Regions from separate parts of the Homo sapiens genome. Here region 2 is linked to region 1. Evidence: promoter capture Hi-C in human tissues and cell types (Jung and others, 2019). All regions are on one chromosome and are shown on one strand. The core of a region is centred on a gene start or on the middle of the fragment in contact, and the rest is flanking DNA. Distances in the headings are between cores, read along the strand shown. Region 1 holds the start of BTLA (B and T lymphocyte associated). Region 2 has its middle 56 kb from the start of BTLA.

What was found. Contacts are between HindIII fragments. The study calls those that stand out against the background at their distance.
Region 2: a contact is called between a fragment that was not itself captured here and the fragment with the promoter of BTLA in region 1, in 1 of the 25 tissues and cell types used here (H1 embryonic stem cells).

What each region holds. Positions count from the first base shown.
Region 1 is chr3:112,497,333-112,501,147 of GRCh38, forward strand. BTLA (B and T lymphocyte associated) reads right to left here and starts at 2,140. Exons shown (of 5, transcript NM_181780.4): 1 at 1,939-2,140. The coding sequence starts at 2,026. RefSeq lists enhancers at 604-723, 1,592-1,641, 1,732-1,861. The HindIII fragment of the contact is 5,711 bases long and covers 1-3,742 here.
Region 2 is chr3:112,440,903-112,445,237 of GRCh38, forward strand. No RefSeq gene overlaps it. Among named protein-coding and RNA genes, the nearest start is that of BTLA, 56 kb to the right of the region's middle. The HindIII fragment of the contact is 7,891 bases long and covers 1-4,335 here.

The sequences.
Region 1 (3,815 bases), core at 890-3,389:
CAAATGAGGAAACTAAAGAGAAGAGAAGAGACTTAATCAATGCCATACAGTAAGTGGCAGAGCCAGTAAATTAACCCAGTTCTAACAGCCAAGTTCACTTTTGCAAATGCTAGGTTGCACATTGGGAGAAATAAAGGTCTTACCCCACCATCAATGTGGTTTAGCACTGAAACTCATTGTTCTTAATTTCATAGAGAGTAGTTTATGTATCCTTCAAATGGGGAAGAAATCTATTTAATAATATTTGACTCCAGTTGTAGCTATGTGACTGTAGGCATCTGATGGAAGGTGGAAAATTCAGTCAACCATCTAAGCACCTAGTTGACTTAATACTAGATACTTACAAACATAAAGATGTTTGAGTAACTAAGGACTTTTTTACTTTGCACTTGGTTGTGTGGCATCCTGGCATCATAGAGACATATTCCAAACTACACAGTTTAAAATTATAGATAGACTTTCCATAGAACCTCAGTGGCCAGATTTTCTAATTTAAAATTGCAGTAGCCAAACTGATAAATGTGTGCTTGTAGGGAATAATAAGACAGAATATTTAAAACCTGAAAAATCACTGGGCATGGTGGCTCATACCTGTAATCCTAGCACTTTGGGAGGCTGAGGCAGGTGGATCACTTGAGGTCAGGAGCTCCAGACCAGCCTGCCCAACATGCATTGCATCCATAGCTTGGCTGACTTTCTTAAAAAACAGGTTGATGGCAAGAAAAGAGAACTGAGTAGATGTTATAAATAGTTAAGTACAAATCTATCACTACTTCTTGCGAAAATGCTCAGGCTGCCACACTGATGATGAATAGATAGCTCGTTCTTCCCAAACTGAGTGCAGTAGAGTGTTGCAGTGCTCAGTTGGGTAGGACAGATGTTGGATAATTGGGGTTATCCAACATCTCTACTAAAAATACAAAAATTAGCTGTGCGTGGTGGAAGGTGCCTGTAATCCCAGCTACTAGGGACGCTGAGGCAGGAGAATAAATTGAACCCGGGAGGAAGAAGAATCGATTGAACCCGGGAGGCAGAGGATGCAGTGAGGCGGGATCACGCCATTGCACTCCAGCCTGGGTGACGAGAGCAAAACTCTTGTCTCAAAAAAATAAAAAAATAAAACCTGAAAAATCAGAAGCTTCTGATGAGCCACTCATAGGCTTTTCCTCTTGATAATATGTGGGTTCCTATGCAATATAAGGTAGGAAGCGACTTTACAATAAAAAAGAAATTGCCTTTTTTTTTTTTTTTTTTTTTTTGCCTGTATAAAGTCTTTGCAGGGGTGGCTAAATATCATCTTTGCAGAATCCAACTTATTTTCTGTGTTCAATTGACAACCAAGTAGGAACCATTCCCTTTCAACAAAATAGAAGCAATGACGAAAAGTTCTGCTCCTATATTTTGTAGCATTTTCTCAATCGGTATTCTCAAGGCATACATCCCAATGAAGCAAGTATAGAGATTTTATTTAGAGGTAATATTATTTGAGGGTAACCATGGAGATATGTATAATTCCGATTATCCAACAACTGTCCTACCCAACTGAGCACTGCAGCACTCTACTGCACTCAGTTTGGAAAGAACGAGCTATCTATTCATTATCAGTATGGCAGCCAGAGCATTTTTGCAAGAAGTAGTGATAGATTTGTACTTAACTATTTATAACATCTACTCAGTTCTCTTTTCCTACCATCAACATGTTTTTAAGAAAGTCAGCCAAGCTATTGATGCGATGCCTATGATTAGGCAGGTGAATACTATGTTCTAATTTGGTTTATGCTCTACGATGTCTTCGGTAAGCAAATGTAACAGCTTGGTTTCATCTACGATTACCCACTTCGTATAAACGTTACACCGTACTAAGTTCAGCAAGGGAGAATGTTGCCTCCAAGACCCCCTGAGAAATAAAACCAGAAATAACCTAAGCAGGTGCCTTACCATGGATGTTCCAGATGTCCAGATATGGGATTAAGAAGAAGACCCAAAATAATTTCCCAGTTCCAAGCATGGCAGGCAATGTCTTCATTTCCTGCACATATCAGTGATGGAAAAACTGCTCAAGTAGAAGGCTTTGCTTCGTCTTCTGAGTGCTGCAGAGTTGGGTCAGTTTACCTACCCCAGTGGCATCTGTGAAATAACTAAAAAAAAAAAAAAAAGAAGAGAGAGGTGGTAAGAGAGGAGAGTAGGAAGAGCCTGGATGATTTTGTGAAAAAAAGTGAACAGAAAGACGATGTGGTACTCTGTTCTGTGGTTTTTGCTTCTTGTCAGGTTGGCTGTTCACTTTCAAACACTGTGATCTGCAAAGCAGCTCAGTCCTTAACTTCTCCTTCCGCTCTACCACGTTTTTGCCCCAGGTTGAGGTTTTTCCTGCACTCAATGTTCAGTGAAATGAGCAATTAAACTTTAAAGAAATCTGTATTGTTGCAGTCTTTAAGTTGAGATTTTAATCAAATTAAGGTCAGGAAATTTATGGTAAAACTATCAATGGTAAGTATACATTTTCCCCTTTGTGATAGCTTGTGATTATGAAACTTCTTTTATGTAAAAGATTTTAGGTTTCTTTTTTTTCCTGTACATGTCACGGTAAGATGAGGATGCTTATTGTCATTAAACCAGTGAAGATTTATCTCAGGTTATGGAGAAAATGAGTGACAGGAAGCACTTCCTCAACAGAAGAAGGAAGAGCAGCCGTCTTTAATCTGTGGATACATATCAATGGAACAAGATCATCATTAATATTGGCTACATGTTCTCTCTAGATAATAAAGTTCTAATCTAAAGGAGATCTTGAATATCAATTAAAGGAAATTTCCATTTTAAACATTCTTCATGCAGTTGTTGTCTCGATGAAGTAGAATAGAAACAGTAAAGGAAGAAATGGAAAAGTTCAAGATCAGATAGCACAGGCCACCATAGGACTGTTTTCTCCACATCCACTTGTAATAATTAGCTTAGCTTATAGTCATAGGAGCTAATCAAATTCATCTGCCATTTGAGACTCCAAATGAGAGATCTAGATTTGTGGCATTAGTGATCATTGACAGAAGTCGATTATATAAGTTTTTTCCTCAGAGACTGATGATTTTATTCCAAGGCCAAACTTCAATAGTTTTAAGTTCAAGGAAAGTTTTAAGAGCAAGGAAAGTGTATAGATTGCTGGACATTTTGACCTGACATGGGAAACTGATGGGCAATACTTAATTCAGAGCTCCCAGTTGAGTTGCCAAGGGTAAATTAAAATTAAAAAACAGTTATCATGTATTTATTGAGTCAAATAGACAATGTGCTATGGTTGGAGATGAATGATGAATGAGTTGCTATTGCTGATTTTAAAGAACTCGTTCAATCAGTATTACGACTTCCTCACATCCACCTTTAGTGTTGGTCTTATAATATAGTATAATACAGAGAGGGTACACATAGCCTTTTAGAATTTCTGTTACTAATCAAATAAACATCCTGGGAAATATTAAGGCAGTATTTTCACAGCTCCTTCCTTTTCCTGTGTTCACAGTGAGTAAAAGCTTCTTGAGGCAGCTGAAGCAAGGCTCATTGTCCCTTTAAAATGGCCCACAGGTCAAAAGCCATAACCTTATGGCTTATGGGTTACATAAGCCCAAACCAGAGAGAGATCATATTAACTTTATCTCAGCTTAAAACTGTTATGTCACTATTTTAAATATTTTTCATATAAAAAGTCCATGCTAATTAGACAAAATTCGGAAAAAATCTTATGTAGCATCTAATGTATTTTTAAAAGATTTATATATTTCTTGCTTTTATTAGCATGCCTAGCACTTTATCCCTCCACAGGT
Region 2 (4,335 bases), core at 400-2,899, 57 kb before region 1:
TAGCATTTCTATACACCAATAATATTCAGGCTGAGAGCCAAATTGAGAATGCAATCTCATTCACAAAAGCCACAAAGGAAACGAAATACCAAGGAATATAGTTAATCAAGGAGTTGAAAGATTTTTTACAAGGAGAACTATAAAACACTGCTGAAAGAAATTAGAGATGAAAAAAACACATGGGGAAAGTTTCCATGCTCTTAGATTGGAAGAATCAATATTATTAAAATGGCCATTCTGCCCAAAGCCATTTACAGATTCAATGCTATTTCTATCAAATAACCAGTGTCATTCTTCACAGAATTAGAAAAACCTATTATAAAATTCATAGGAAACCAATAAAGAGCCTGAATAGCCAAAGAAATCTTAAGCAAAAAGGGCAAAGCTGAAAGCATCACAACATCAAATTATACTACAAAAGTACAGCAACCAAAAACACCATGGTAGTGGTACAAAAACCGACACGTAGACCAGTGGAACAGAATAGAAAACTCGGAAATAAAGCTGCACACCTACAACAGTCTGATCTTCAACAAGGTAGACAAAAACAAGCAATGGGGAAAGGATTCCCTATTCAATAAATGGTGTTAACTGGCTAGCTATATGCAGAAGAATAATACTGGACCCTTACCTTTCACCATATACAAAATTAACTCAAGATGCATTAAGTGTTGAAATATAAAACCTTAATCTATAAAAATCCTAGAAAAAAATACTAGGAAATACTCTTCTCAATATCAGCCTGGGCAAATAATTTTTGACTAAGTCCTCGAAAGCATTTGCAACAAAACCAAAAATTGACAAGTGGAACCTAATTAAAGAGTTTCTGCAGAGCAAAAGAAGCTATCAACAGAGTAAACAGACAACCTACAAAGTGGGAGAAAATATTCATAAAGTATGCATCTGATAAAGGTCTAATATCCAGAATTTCTAAGGAGCTTAAACAAATCAACAAGCAAAAATAAGCCTCATTAAAAAATTGGCAAAGGACATGAAGAGACACTCCTCAAAGGAAGACATACAAGTGGCCAACAAACATGAAAAACTGTCATCAGCACCAATCATTAGAGAAGTGAAAATTAAAACCATGAGATACCATCTCACACCAGTCAGAATGGCTTTATTAAAGTCAAAAAACAACAGATGTTGGTGGGGCTGCAGAGAAAAGGGAATGCTTATAGACTATTGGTGGGAATGTAAATTAGTTCAGACACTGTGGAAAGCAATTTGGAGATTTCTCAAAGAAGTTAAAACAGAGCTACCATTATACCCAGCAATCCCATTACTGGGTATATACCCAAAGGAAAATGTATCATTATACCAAAAAGACAGAGGTACTTATATGTTCGTCATCATGCTATTCACAATAGCAAATACCTGCAGTCAACCTAGGTCCCCATCAATGGTGGACTGGATAAAGAAAACGTGGTTCATATACACCACAGAACACAGCCATAAAAAAGAATGAAATCATGTACTTTGCGGCAACATAGATAGAGTTGGAGGTCATAATTCAAAGCAAATTAATGCAGGAGCAGAAAACCAAAGACTGCATGTTCATAAGTGGGAGCTAAACATTGAGTATACATGGGATATGAACATGGGAACAATAGACACGATGGACTACTAGAGGGCAGAGAGAGGGAGGGGGGCATGTGTTAAAAAACTACATGTGGGGTACTATCCTTCCTATATTTTAGATATAGTTGGTACATATGCAGGCTTGTTACATGGGTGCAGTATACCCACGTAATATACATTTTTAAATGCATCAATTTTCTTGTTTTGTTTAATTGGAGGATGTAGCTACTAATTAGACATTTTTAGAAAAAATATACATTTAATTACATAGGCCAAAAAGTTAATTTTATAGGACAGAATGAGAATACAAAACATGTATATAAGTTGAGGGGAATAGAAAAAAGGCAAAAAAAAGGGAAAAAACAAAACATGCTAAATATGAAGTATGAGATAAGAAATAAGTTCAGTGAAATAAACATTAAAAATGAATGAGTTATATAGCTTCAAGACAGAAACTCATTTTTTAAAGACCCAGGTATGTACTAGTTCATATTTATGGTGAAAAAAATAAAAACTACAGTTGTCTCTGGGGATATGGAATATTGGCTGGGAGGGGACATAAGGAAATTTATGGAGTGAGAGTAGTGGTTCATATCTCAATATGAGATTCATTTACCCAGGTATATGCATTTTTCTACTCAACAAATGCACCTTTTATTGCATGCAATTTTATATTTAAAAGCTCTAAAAAGTGTTACATTTAGTTAATGTTGACAACGTGAAACTATTTAACTGGAAGAATATTTTTGATGGATAAATTGATATTTACAAATTACCTTGAAATATATCAGTAAAATAAATTGACTGTTGGATGGATAGATATGTGATAATGCAAGTATAGTTTAAGGTTAATGACAATATATGTTGTAAGCAGCAATATTCAGATAGCCAAAAAGTAGAAACAATTCAAATGTCCATCTACTAATGAATGAACAAAATATGGTAGATCCATACAATAGAATATTATTCATTCATTAAGAGGAAAGAAGACTGATATGTGCTACAGCACAGATAAACCTTGAAAACGTTATGTTAAGTGAAAGAAGCTAGACTAAAAGGTCATATCTTGTATGATTTCATTTATATGAAATGTCCAGAATAGGCTAATCTGTAGAGACATAAAGCAGATTGTACTCAAAGCAAATTATTGGCTGAGGCTTTTAGAATCGCCAATAGAGATGTTTTTAATAGTATTGAGGTCTGGGATAGATAGATAACCCTCTTCTTTTCCCTTTTAAGTTGGGCAGTTAGAATTAGACTCATAGCTCGACTGATAAAAATCAAAAGGTCAGCCGGGCGCGGTGGCTCACGCCTGTAATCCCAGCACTTTGGGAGGCGGAGGCGGGCAGATCACGAGGCCAGGAGATAGCGACCATCCTGGCTAACACCGTGAAACCCTGTCTCTACTAAAAATACAAAAAATTAGCCGGGCGTGGTGGCGGGCACCTGTAGTCCCAGCTACTTGGGAGGCTGAGGCAGGAGAATGGCCTGAACCCGGGAGGCGGAGCTGGCAGTGAGCCGAGATCGCGCCACTGCACTCCAGCCTGGGCGACAGAGCGAGACTCTGTCTCAAAAAAAAAAAAAAAAAAAAAAAAATCAAAAGGTTAATTTATTACAATCAAAAGCTAGATTGGAGCATGTAGCTTAAATACAGAGCCACAATGAATTTTCTAATACTTTATGTAGAATTAAACTGAGATCCTCCTATATTGTCTCACAGACATGTGCACACAGAGAGAGAGAAGGGGGCAAGGTCTGCTCCACTACCACCAGGAATAGGAGAGCAGACCAGAATGATCCTGTCACAGATCCAAAGTGAGAGCAAACCCAGAAGTTTGATTCCATGTCACAACTTCACTGGGCAGTTGTATCACTTCTCTTCCCCTTTGGTGAGAAAGGAGTAGAGAATTATAATTATTTTTCACGTAATATTCAATGTTGAATGGAGTGGAGTGAAAATTCATTTTCATTTTCAGGCACATTAATAATCAGAGATTATGTGTTTCTCCCATTGTATATCTGTCCAAAATGATTTCTTATAATCATGTATATGTGCATAGAATTTTGCAGTTTACAAGAGATTTTCTCATAATTATCTTATTTGACCCTCACGGGGTCCTTCTGGGATGTAGCAAGCTGCGGGGCTTAAAACAGGAATCCTGGAAGTAACTATGAACCTTGTAATTCTAAAATCTACATAAAGGTTCCCATGACACTATTGTTATAGGATTTTTTGATTATAATACATGTCTCATTTGCCATAACATTTCAGACCCATTTTACTTTATTTTAGGACACAATGGTCCCTAAATAATGAGAGGTATCAAAAGGCAGAAAATGAAAAATAAGTGAAATTAGATAAGCATAAACAACCAAATGAATCGTTTCCATCCTCAACATTCTCCTTGTCCATTAGCATCACTTACCTTGTTCAAAACCTGAAGAGTCCTCCTTTATTTCTCCCTCTTCCTAGTCCCACAAATCTAGCGGCCAAGTTCTAACGAGTGTACCTACATATCACTCATATATTACCTCCTTTTCAATACCCATCACTGCATCCCCTCTCCCCACACAAAAGTCTGTTAACTGGTTTCCCTAACTCCAGTTCTGCATGTTCCTCGTCCATCATCTATGCTACAGATAAAATGACCTTTCAAAAATATACATCTGATCACCACCCCTTCCCACCCCGGTGGAAGATGCTGTCAATGGGGCAAAACCACAGCTATTTTCAACTCTTTTTTCTTAATGCTA